Regions from separate parts of the Homo sapiens genome. Here region 1 is linked to region 2. The links are contacts of gene promoters, found by promoter capture Hi-C in blood cells and fetal thymus (Javierre and others, 2016). All regions are on one chromosome and are shown on one strand. The core of a region is centred on a gene start or on the middle of the fragment in contact, and the rest is flanking DNA. Distances in the headings are between cores, read along the strand shown.

Evidence for each region. Contacts are between HindIII fragments. The CHiCAGO score rates a contact against its expected background, and 5 or more counts as called.
Region 1: a contact is called between a fragment that was not itself captured here and the fragment with the promoter of THAP12 in region 2, in 1 of 17 cell types (non-activated CD4 T cells). The highest score is 7.1, in non-activated CD4 T cells.

What each region holds. Positions count from the first base shown.
Region 1 is chr11:73,590,382-73,596,739 of GRCh38, forward strand. All of the region lies in intron 1 of FAM168A (family with sequence similarity 168 member A), which reads right to left. Among named protein-coding and RNA genes, the nearest start is that of FAM168A, 4.6 kb to the right of the region's middle. The HindIII fragment of the contact is 158 bases long and covers 4,896-5,053 here.
Region 2 is chr11:76,376,202-76,382,435 of GRCh38, forward strand. THAP12 (THAP domain containing 12) reads right to left here and starts at 4,931. Exons shown (of 5, transcript NM_004705.4): 1 at 4,547-4,931. The coding sequence starts at 4,635. It overlaps GVQW3 (GVQW motif containing 3), which reads left to right and starts at 5,122. Exons shown (of 2, transcript NM_001347885.2): 1 at 5,122-6,092. The coding sequence starts at 5,628. RefSeq lists an enhancer at 4,136-4,637 and a silencer at 4,280-5,209. The HindIII fragment of the contact is 4,414 bases long and covers 1,306-5,719 here.

The DNA of each region.
Region 1 (6,358 bases), core at 3,725-6,224, 2.8 Mb before region 2:
TGGAGTTGTCAATAAATATGAATGTGAAGACACCAAAATGTTTGAGAAACTGTTGCTACATAGCAATAAGCAAGAACACACTACACCTACATACAAGAATAAATGAGTCTCACAAATATATTATATATGAAAAGCCAGTCACACCTATGAAACGTCATAAACAGGCAAAAATAATCTACATTATTAGAAGTTGTTGGTTTCCTTGGAGGAGGAGATAATGTTCCCTTTCTTGATCCGAATGCTGGTTATACATTTTGTGCATTTTTTTCTACATGTTATACATACCTCAATATAATTTATTTTTAATTTATATTTTCCATATAAATATACACACATCTGCCTTATGCTCACCTACAGAAGTTTTGTTAACACTGGTCGAGAGTAGAACTGACACATATCTTTTTTTTTTAAACAGCTCCTCGGGTGATTCTAAAGAGTAGCCAGATACTACCTGTCTAAATAGGTTGAAGACTACTGATTAGGCTGGGTGCAGGCTCACGCCTGTAATCCCAGCACTTTGGGAGGCCGAGGCAGGCAGATCATCTGAGGTCAGGGGTTCAAGACCAGCCTGGCCAACATGGTGAAATCCCATCTCTACCAAAAATACAAACAATTAGCCGGGCATGGTGGCACGGGCCTGTGGTCCTAGCTACTCAAGAGGCTAAGGTAGAAGAATCACTTGAACCTGGGAGGAAGAGTTTGCAGTGAGCAGAGATCGTGCCACTGTACTCCAGGCCGGGAGACAAAGCGAGACTCTGTCTCAAAAAAAAAAAGAAGACTACTGATTTAACAGCTTAAAACCAGGAAGATTTATATGCAGTACAACAAAAAGAACAATGGCTCTGGAGCAAGGCAGATCAGGTTTTTAAATACGAGCTTTTCTTCTCTTACTAGCTATGTAAACAAATGCAAACTAGTTAATCACTATATGCCTCAGTTGCTTCAGTTTCTTCTTCTGTAAAATGATCACAATTCCTTATACGACACAAATATGAGGATTAAATTCTATCTATAAGGAAAAGAAAGCACCCAGCATACTGCCTGCCATAGACACTCAAATGTTAGGTACCTTTTGTCTTTCCCTGCTAATTCCCTACTTGTCTTATGGCCTAAGACAAATTACCCTCTTGAATCTTTTTATTCATTTATTTATTGAGATATAGTCTTGCCCAAGCTAGAGAGCAGAGGTATGATCATAGCTCACTGTAGCCTCAAATTCCTGGGCTCAAGTGATCCTCCCACCTCAGCCTCCAAAATAGCTATGAACAGAGGTGCACGCCACCACATCCAGATAATATTTTTGTTTTTTGTAGAGACTGGATCTCACTATGTTGATCAGATTGGTCTTGAACTCCTGGGCTCAAGCGATCTTCCCACCTTGGCCTCCCAAAATCCTGGGATTACAGGTGTGAGCCACTGCACCCAGCTACCCTCTTAGAGTCTTAATTTCTTCATCCTTAAAATGAAAATAATGCCACATGACCAACCTAAGAACTATATATAAAATGGCGCCATTATATTTGCATAAGTATAAATAGCATAGCTGTTATCTACTGATAGAGACATTTGCTATCAACTCAAAATAAAAGATAGAGGAAGACACATTAGAAAACTAAAATACTTAGAAAAATTATAAAACAGAGGCTAGAAAAGAAATACAAGTTAGCAGAAATCGTCAAGCTTGAGCGACATGATCAGAAGGCAAATCAAGATCATAATCTCAAGTAGCCAAGGATTGAAGTTTACTGTGAAAAATATATCATCTCAGGGTTCCTTCAAAATGTCTATATCTAAGAAAAAGCACAACCTATATCATCATAAAATAGGCATATTCTGAAAGGACCCAGACACCTGCCTAACTGGCAGGAGGAGGAGGTGTATTGGAACTTTATAAACTGAGGTTTTCTCAGAGTGTCTTCATACAGAAAATAATGGCTCATTTAATAAAATGTTAAACTTTTAGATAAACATAATTTGACAAAAAAATTCTATACCATTGTTTTCAATACTAAAGATATGCATAACTGTCCAAGGAAGTAAATTTAACAAAATAGAGAAAGAAATATGAACTTGGTTTAGTCTCTTTCCTCTTCAATATTTTACAACTTTGAGTTGATTTCTGTTAACGTACCAGGGGTCGGCCAGCTATGGCCCGCCCATGGCCTATTTTTGTATGGCCTGTGAGTTTTACATTCTTAAAACCACATAAAAGGAGGAGAAAGAGAAGGGGAGGGAGAAGAAGGAATGGGGAGAAGCAAGAGGAGGGGCTTCAGGAAGGAGAAGAACGGGGAGGGAGATGGGGAGACAAAAAGGAAGGGGAGTGGAAGGGAGGAGAAAGAACAACAGAGGCCATATGTGGCACAAAATATTTTCTACAAAAAGCATTTGCCAGCCAGGCATGGTGCCACATGCCTGCATTTGTAAGCACTTTGGGAGGCCGAGGAAGGAGGATCACTTGACCAGGACAACATAGCGAGACCCTGTCTCTACCAAAAAAAAAAAAAAGTGTTACTGGGTAATAGGACTAAAAACAATACTTATGCTTCTTTTTACTTTTTGTAATTTCTAGTTTTTATCATGAGCACACATTATTTAATGGTGGAAGAAATAAAGCTTTTTTAAAAGTTAAAAAATAAGAATAAGAATAAAGCAAGTCAGAAGAATATTTATCCTATAATTCTATTTATAAAAAGTTGCAAAGGTAAAAAATATACTGTTTAGGGATATGCACATATTTGGTAAAAGTATAAAGAAAAGCAAAGAAATGATTCACATAAAATTTAGGAAACTGTTTATCTCTGAGGGAGAGAGAAGATGGGAGATTCAATCAAGTAGGACCTCACAAGAGGCTTTAAAGGTACTAGAAATCTCCTTTTTGTTAAGCTGGGTAGCAAGTAGAAAAGCCTTCAATTTGTTATTCTTTAAGTTGTGGGTTTATGTTAAATATACTTTTATACATATGACATATTTTACAATTTAAAAAAAGGATATAAATGGGGATGACAAATTAGAATTTGGGGGCTGTAACCCAGACTTTTCCACTGACTGTGTAACCTTAAACAAGTCATTTAACCTCTCAGAGCATAATTTTTCTTCTTATTTTATTAATGAGGAAGCTAACAGCTAACATCTGTTTAGGACTTTGGCATTTAAAGAACTGTTTAAAGTTCCTAGACTGTAAACATGCAAATATGCATGAGATCATAAAACAAAATCATACCTCATTAATAAATACCACAATACTAAGAACTCATTGGTAGGGCACACAAGGCTATTCACCATTCTAGCCTCTGCCTATCTTTCTAACAATAAAGGCAACAACTAATTTTTTTAATGTGTACTATAAAACATATTGTGTGAAATGCTTTCCATTGATTATCTTATTTAATCCTCAAAACAATCCTATGATGTTAATTCTATTATTCGCACTTTACAGATGAGCCCATTGTGCCCAACGTCACACAGCTAATAGTAAGTGGTAGACAGACTTCAAAACCCACATTTAACCATAGCATTCATTTTGCCTCACTTTTCTCACCGTATTTGTCTATCTTTCCCATGACACTGAAAGCTCCTTGACAACTGCTTTCTGTTCATTTTTATTTCCCCTGGCACTTAGCAGACATTCATTAAATAAATAAATAGTGAACAGATATTTCATATATGTACAGTGTTTTCAGGACATGAACTGGTTTGTTCCCCTTGACAGCCTTGTGAAGTATGAAAGTTTGATTGTGTGACAGGGTCTCATTCTGTAACCCAGACTGCAGTGCAGGGAAGCACGATCATGGCTCACTGCAGCCTTGACCTCCCTGGCTCAAGCAATCCTCCCACCTCCCTCCTGAGTATCTGGGATTACAGGTATACGCTACCACACCCAGCAAATTTTTTTTTTTTTTTGTGGAGACGGGTCTCCCTATGTTGCCCTCACTGGTCTCGAACTCCTAGGCTCAAGCAATACTCCCAGCTCAGCCTCCCAAAGTCTGGGATTATGGGCGTGAGCCACTATGCCTGGCCAGTTTTTTTGGTTTTTGAGGTTTTTTTGTGTGTGTATTTTTACCTTTTTAACCAAAGTTAAGTGTACAATTCAGTGGTATTAACTATGTTCACAATGTTTTGCAGCCATTACCACTAAATATGAAAGGTTTTTTGTTTGTTTTTTGTTTGTTTGTTTTGAGACAGAGTTTCGCTCTTGTTGCCTATGCTGGAGTGCAATGGCGCAATCGTGGCTCACTGCCCACCTCCCCAGTTCTAGCAATTCTCCTGCCTCAGCCTCCCAAGTAGCTGGGATTACAGGCACGTGCTACCAGCTAATTTTTGTATTTGTAGTAGAGATGGGGTTTTGCCATGTTGGCCAGGCTGATCTCAAACTCCTGACCTCAAGTGATCCACCCACCTCGGCCTCCCAAAGTGCTGGGACTACTGGCGTGAGCCACCACGCCTGGCCATCTGAAAGGTTTTTAATGACTTGACTGAAATCACTCAGCTTTCAAGTAGTAGAACTGGGATTTGAATCTGGGACTCAACTCCTAAACTCATGGGCTATTCGTTCCACAAAGGCTTCTGTCTATCAATACCTCCATCTGCTCTCTTCTCACCAAGATATCGGGAGGATCAAATGAGGTAAAGATACAAAAACACATTACTACTACACAGGTAACCACGGCTGTGGAAAAAAAAAATCCACCAACACATTTCTCCCAGGCACTTTTCATTTTGGGCTTTCAAAAGCTAGGGCTTTAATATAAACATCCCACCTCTAGACCAAGCCTGCAGATCTGCAAAAACAACGTCTAGACCTCAGAGTAAAGTTATGAGAGAAATGCTCACATTAGATTACAGTCTCACTGAATTACAGGTAACTGCTCAAACCTGATCTTTATTATAATACAGAAAGCTTCCTCATTACAAAACACTTTCAATTCAAAGGATAAGTCCAACGTTCCATCATTCTGCCCATTTTGGAGCTAAAAAAAAAAGATTCTAAATGGTATTTTTATATGCTCAATCGTGAAAGCCAAGGAAAATGGTTTGTTTGCGAGCTAAATTCTGAAGCTTGAACAAAAATAAAAAGAATTATTTCGATCCCAATGGTGCCAATTTTATCTTCTTTACATCCCTCCTCATTTTTTTTCAGTCTGAGCTCTAATCAACAGCCACTTTATGTTTAACATATTATCACAGTTAATGCAATTAGGTCCATAGAACTGTTTCTCTAAAGATGTTCCCTCCATTTGCACTCCTGTGTACCTTCCATTATCATCGTTCTGCCCTAAGAATGAGCATATCGCTAAGGTTTAAATCGAATTTCTGATGAATAGGTGGAGATGCTGTTTCTGTAGTTAATACAATGCGACTACATCAACATCATTCCCCAAAAAATAAAATAAAAATGACTCAATATGCTTTATTTATTCACATCTGACAGAATTCTGATCACCTGAATTCCTTTGGAAGAAAATTCAATCTTTAGAAATACAGTCCAATTATTCTAAATCTTATCAATGTCAAAAGACAATCATATGAAAAACTCCATCAGTACCAAACCATCTCACCAATGAATATTTATGACATTTCCATATTTCCTGTCTTCTCTGTTTACATAAAGCGGTGGTGCCAAGACTCATCTCAGGATTATTAGCCTGCAATACAATGATGGGCCTAATTGCCTTGCAAACCAGGACACTAACAAATGGCGTCTTCAAGCAATCAATTTAAAGAGGGGGTAAAAAAGGCCCAAGCTCTTTTTGCCTATGTGCTTGTTACCTACCTACAAAATAAATTCAGTCTCATATTTTTCAGGCTCACTCATTAGTTCTCAAGCAAGGAATGCACCCTTAACAATCTCAAGCTCATCAAATCTATTTAAATTTCAAAATGCCTGGCTAGTTTTTAAATACACCAGGAGGAGAGGGGAAAAGAAAAGGCAGAGACATCATATAGAAAGATATCCATTACATTCCAGTTTATCTTCTCCCACCTTTAGTTTGGAAGTATGCTTTTTTCCCCCAACTTACTTTTTATGATATACAAATAACAGAAGACACCCTCCCCTCCTTAATTCTACCTTAACTAAATCCCCTTTCAACTTTACCCTTTGGGCTGACTTGACTTCCAAATTTTACTAATATAAATAAAACAAACAAAAACATCACCCGAACAGATTAAAATGGCCCCTAAGAATGAGAAGGTCTCTTCCGTGTCCCCTGCAAAGTCCCCTCTAACAGCCTTACTGCCTCTCACCCAACCACAGCCACCAAGGCTGTTCATTTAAGTATTCCAACCCTTAACCCTCATGTGTCTCTTGGAGGCCACCCCAATCCTTCACCACCAAAATAATCCAACCCAATTCCCCCCT
Region 2 (6,234 bases), core at 3,681-6,180:
TCTGTTGTATTTTACCAAAATTTTAAAAATTAATGTATATACCCCAAATCGTACACTTTACATGGGTGAATTATATGTGAATTGCATCTCAATAAACATCTTTTTAAAAAGAAATTCATGATTTGGTCTTGAAGCATTCAAAGGAGTCTAACGTTGAAAAGGGCAGAGACTTCGTGTGATCCTGGGAACAAAACTAGGACCTCCAAGGCCTCAATTACAGGAGGCAGATGTCCACTCAATACAAGGAAGAAACAACAGCCAAAGCGTCCAGAATCATCACGTGTCTTCTCACAAAGGGGAGGACTATCATTAGAGGTGTTTTAGCAAGGGCAAAGATGCCCATCTGTCAGGAATGCACAGGGCCTATAAAGGCCCATAAACATCTTTGTCTTCGAATGCTAAATTGTGTCTATGTTTTTTTTGTTTTTTTTTTTTTTTCAGGTAAGAGTCCTTATGCTAGATTCTCAAAAGGGATAATAACCCTAAAAATGATAAAAGTCACTATTATTGAGAAAATTCCAGTATTTCAAGTGAGATTTCACTAGATCTAAACACTTCTTTCAAATCTGAAACTGTAAACCCCTATAGACTATACTCCCCTTAAGGAGTGTAGTCAAAACAGGATTCACTACATATTAATACAAATGACCTGTGGTCCAGAACTGACTAGGGGTGCCCTCATTATGGAAGTGAAATAAACCTGTAAGAATGTCTTTGGGCTAAAATTTGGGTAAAAGGAAGATAACGCATAATGGGGCAAGGCCAAGTCAGACTAAGATGCTCCTCTCCTCTGTTCCCAACTGCTACTCCTCACTGTACTGAGCGAGTTCTTTCCCATGTCTCGGAACTTAAAACACTGGGAATGCCCCAGGACTCAATCCTCAGATCTGTTCTTTGCTCACTCCTTAGATAACCTTAACCCGTACCACGGTTTTAAATACCCTCTATAAACTGAGAACACCCATATTTACAATTTCCGGTTTGAAAGTCTCTGAATTTCAGACTTGTATATCCTATTCTCTCTTCAAGACATCTATTTTCTTTGAGGTGAAATTCTCATAACATAAAACTAACCATTTTAAAGTAAAAAACTAATGGCAATTAACACATTCATCATGTTCTGCAACCATCACCACTACCTAATTCTAAAACATTTTCATCACCTCAAAAGGAAACCTTGTAACCATTAATCAGTTGCTCCCCACTCTCCCTTTCGCCCAGCCCCAGGCAACCACTGATATGCTTTCTATCTCTATGGATTTACTTATTCTGGATATTTAATATAATAGAATCATACAACATATAAGCTTTTGTATCTGACTTCTTTCACTTAGCATAATGTTTCTGAGGTTCACCCATACTGTAGTATGTACTGGCACTTCATTCCTTTTCATGGCTAATATTTCATTGTATTGATATACATTTTGTTTATCCATTCAAGCACTGATAAACGTGGCTTGTTTCTACCTTTTGACTATTGCGAATAGTGCTGCTATGAATGTGTGTACATTTGGTTTTTTTGAATATCAGTTTGCAATTCTTTGGATATACGCCTAGGAATGGAATTGCTGGGACACACAGTAATTCTACATCTAACTGCCACTTGTGGTTTTGATTTGAACTTCTCTAATAACGAGTGATGCTCAGCATCTTTTCATGTGCTTTTTAGCCATTTATATCTTCTGTTTAAAGAAAGAAGTCCTTTGCCTATTTTAAAATTGGGTTGTCTTTTTGTTGCTGAATTGTAAGAGTTCTTTATATATTCTGGATACTGGACCCAGATCAAATGTATTATTTGCAAGTACCTTCTTCCATTCTTTTCACTTTCTTGGTAATGTTCTTTGATACACAAAAGTTTAATTTTGATGAAGTCCAATTAGTCTATTTTTCTTTTTACTGCATGTATTTTGGTGTCATATCTAAGAATGTGGTGCCAGCCAAGCACGGTGGCTTACACCTGTAATCCCAGCACTTTGGGAGGCCAAGGCGGGCAGATCACCTGAGATCAGGAGTTCGAGACCAGCCTGGCCAACATGGCGAAACCCCGTCTTGACTAAAAAAAAATACAAAAATTAGCCAGGCATGGTGGCGGATGCCTGCAATCCCAGCTACCTGGGAGGCTGAGTGAGTAGAATAGTTTGTGAACATCGGTGGCAGAGGTTGCAGTGAGCTGAGACTGTGCCACTGCACTGCAGCCTGGGCAACAGAGTGAGACTCTCAAAAAAAACAAAAAACAAACAAGAATGTGCTGCCAAATCTAAAGTCATGAAGATTTATCTGTATTTTTTTCCTAAAAGTTTAATGACATAGCTCTTATATTTAGGCCTTTGATCTCAATAAAAGTATAGGCCATTTGGAGTTCATTTCTGTATATGGTATGAAGAAAGACATCTATTCTTTTTTTTTTTTCATCTATTCTTTCTTTCTTGAGACGGAGTCTTGTTCTGTCACCCTGACTGGAGTGCAGTGGCACGATCTCGGCTCACTGCAACCTCTGCCTCCTGGGTTCAAGCGATTCTCACGTCTTGGCCTCCTGAGTAGCTGGACAGGCACGCACCACTGGGCTCAGCTAATTTTTGTATTTTTTAATAGAGACAGGGTTTCCCTATGTTGGCCAGGCTGGTCTCGAACTCCTGACCTCAAGTGATCCGCCTGCTTAGGCCTCCCAAAGTGCTGGGATTACAGGTGTGAGCCACCATGCCCGGCCTAGACATCTATTCTTGAATGTCTATCAGGTCTCTCAAACCCAAACTTCTAGTATTCCTCTACCAAACCTGCTCTTCCCAGTCTTCCCTATCTCAGCAAATGCTCACGTTAAAAATCTTGAAGTCGGCTGGGCGCGGTGGCTCAGAGCCTGTTCTAGCACTTTGGGAGACCGACACAGGAGGACTGCTTGAAGCCAGGAGTTCAAGACCAACCTGGCCAACATAGATTTTTAAAATCTTGAAGTCGTCCTTAAGTTCTCTTTTTCTTTTACAATCTACCTCCAAACCATTAGCAAATGATGTTGGCTTCACCTTCAAACCATATCTCAAATTTACCATCTCCTCCTCTATTAATCTGGATTATTACAACAGCCTTTTAACTGGTCTTCCGGCTTTCACCTTTGCCTCCCCACAATCTAATGAGCAGCCACTGATCCTGTTAAAATTTAAGTCTCTGCTCTAAACCCTTCAATGACTTCCTATTTCACTCATAATAAAAACCATAGTGCCTTCCAAGACCTACAAGGTCCTACCTAAAGAATTTGCCCCTACCATACACACACCTTTCTGGTCTCATCTCACCTCTCTCCCAGTCCCTCTCCCTGGACTCCTGGTTGCCCTGTCTTTGCCTTCTTTGGAATGCTGCTGCCCAAGGTATCTCCATGGCTGGCCCCTTCACCTGGTCTTTGCTCAAATTCACCTTCTTAGTGAGGCCTTCTCTAATCACTGTATTTAAAATAGCAATTGTGCGTCCCTTGATACTACTTATTCCCCTACCCTCTAACCTTTGTTTATTTTTCTCCACAGTATTTATCATCATCCGACACACTACGTATTTTACTTGTTTATTCCCCCCCCATTAGAATGTAATCTTCATGAAAGCAAGGACTTCGATTTGTTCATCTGTAACCCCCACTGCTCACAACAATGCCAACACAAGTAGACCTTCAATAATTAATTGAACTAATTAATAAATAACATAAATTATAGTCGCCCGTTGCTGCACCTGTTCCCTTACTGGACTGAGAGCTTTCTGCAAGCAGTGACACCCTTATTCACCCATGAACTCCCAGCACCTAACATTTGCGCTCGGCACATAGTAGGCATTGATTTTAAATGAATGAACCAACAAGACAGGCCTATGAAACATCTCAGCCTTTCAAACACAGTCCCTATGCTATCATTCCCTAAATATGTCAGTGTGTGGGGGTTATCCGAAGGAAGAGGTTCCAATACCAATTTCCACGCCCTCACGCGTACACCCTCTGTTATCCCTACAATACCCAAGCGAGAAAATGAGTAACGGTGACAGCCAGAAAATGAATCCTGAACCGTGCAATGACAAGTCCGAAGGAGAAAGCAGTTGCGATGAGATGAAAGAAGGTAGCGGGACTCAAAACAGAAACACTGTCCCGGGGGTGGTGGCAAGGAGAGGGAAAGGCCCCAGTGGCCACAACCATAGAGTCCTGCTCTCTTTTGACAGCTAAGGAAACTAACGCCCAGAGAGGAAAGCGACTCCCCCGAGGTCACACAGCAAGTGAGCCACGGCGAGAACCCACAGCATCCCGCGTCCGCGCGCCGCCCCAGCTCCCTCGCGTTTGGGGTGGTGTCCTCCGCGCAGAGCCCCCACCAGCGCACGTGCTCCGAGGTCCCCGGACGCCCGCCCGCCCACGGCTCGGGGCCGGCTCCCCATCTCGGTCCAACGCTGGGGTCGACGGCAGTGCGCTGCGCCCGCCTCCTGCGCCCCTCTCAGCCAGCCCGGGAGCCCGCCAGGGGCCGGCGGCTGGCAGCGCTCACCGCGAAGGTGGGCCCGGGCCGCCCGCTCTGCGCCCGCCGCTTACCTGGCAGGGTCCCGCGGGAACCTGAAGAAGGCCAAGTCGGACTGCGTGCTCTTCCGCGTGCAGTTGGGGGCAGCGCAGAAGTTCGGCATCGTCGCCCGCCCGCCGGCCGGCCCAGCCCTCCCCTCCCCGCCTCCTCAGGGCAGTCCGCCCGCCCGTCGGGGCCGGGGAGGGGAGCCAGGCCGGCCGGCCGGCTCGGCAGGGCCGACGCGCGGGGGAGGGGCGGGCGGGCTAGAAGCCGCGAGGGCCAGGAGGGGTGCCGCGGTCCGAGGCCGGGCTGGGGACGCGGCTCCACAGTGCTGTGAGCGGCCGGGAGGATTTACCGCCGCCGCCGCCGCTGGTGCACCTCCCGCCCGCCCGAGACGCTGCCGCCTCCTTCCCACAATGCACCCTGACGCCCGGGGGTGCCCTCTCTTCCCTCAGCCTTCCTCCCCCGCCCCTCCTTTCCGCCTTCTCAGCAGGCGGGCACGCGCAAGGAAGCGCGCCTGCCGGGGTGTGGCGAGGCGGAGGCGGGACCTGGCGCGCGCCGCCGCAGTGCGACTGCGCACAGTCTAATCCGCGGGGAGAGAGAATTGCGCATGCGCGCCTGTCTCCCGGGACGCTAGAGCAGGCGGTTCCTGGGCTGCTCCGGTAGGTTTGGCGTGCGCGGGTTTCTGCAGATCTAGGGCGAGCTTGCACGTTACATCACCGATGCATCTCTTCTTGCTTGCTTAATTTGCCACCACTTAGGCCTTTCTTGCAGAATTCGCCATATACTCCTTAAGGGCCGCGGAATCGGAGCGACCTTGGTGACTGGCAAACTCTCGGCAGATGTGCGTGCACTGGTTTGATGCAGACGTGGTTGTAGGCGATTTAATTTTTCCCAGCTTTGCAGCGACTGTTGGCTTCCCAGAACGGATCTCCCCAGCCTCGACTGGAAGCTGAGGGACAAAAATTCATAAAAGCAATTACTCTTTCCCGGCGAGGCTTCTAGAAGAGCAAGAAGAGCGATATGATTACACCTGCAGCCCTATAAAGATTGATCTGTCCGTCTTTCCCTTACAGTCGTGGCCTGTTAAACGTTCCTGTGTTGTTCAGTGCCAGAATGAGTGACCGCTATTTAGAACAAAGGATTAGTATCAAATTTTGCGTGAAATTGAACAAGTCTGCAAGTGAGACCCACCATCTTTTAAAAGAAGCTTATGGGGATGAAGTCATGTCAAGGGCCAGAGTTTTTGACTGGCACAAAAGGTTTAAAGAAGGACGGGAAGATGTTCGAGATGATGCCCGAAGTGGGCGTCCAGTCACCCACCGAACAGATGACAATATCCAGAAGGTCAAGGACTTGGTTTGTTCAAACAGGCAGTTAACCGTGAGGATGATGGCTGAAGAGTTAAATTTAGACAAAGAAACTGTTAGGCTCATTTTGAAAGAAAACTTGAACATGAGGAAGATTTCTGCAAAAGTTATTTCGGGTGTTTTGAAGGGTGAGCCTAAACCACGAAAACTTGACTTTCGGTCCGATCTTTCAAAGGAAACTAGGAAAAATAGCTCATGTTTGAGGAAAAAGGTAACAGGTTCTGAAACATGGAGTTATCTCCAGGGTGAAGCTGGTGGGGAAATGCCCCTGCCGGTATCCCATCCCAGAGTCCACTACTCTGCCAGTCAGCTTCTGCAGGCGTCATCTTCAACAAGCCTTCCCCCCAGGGTAG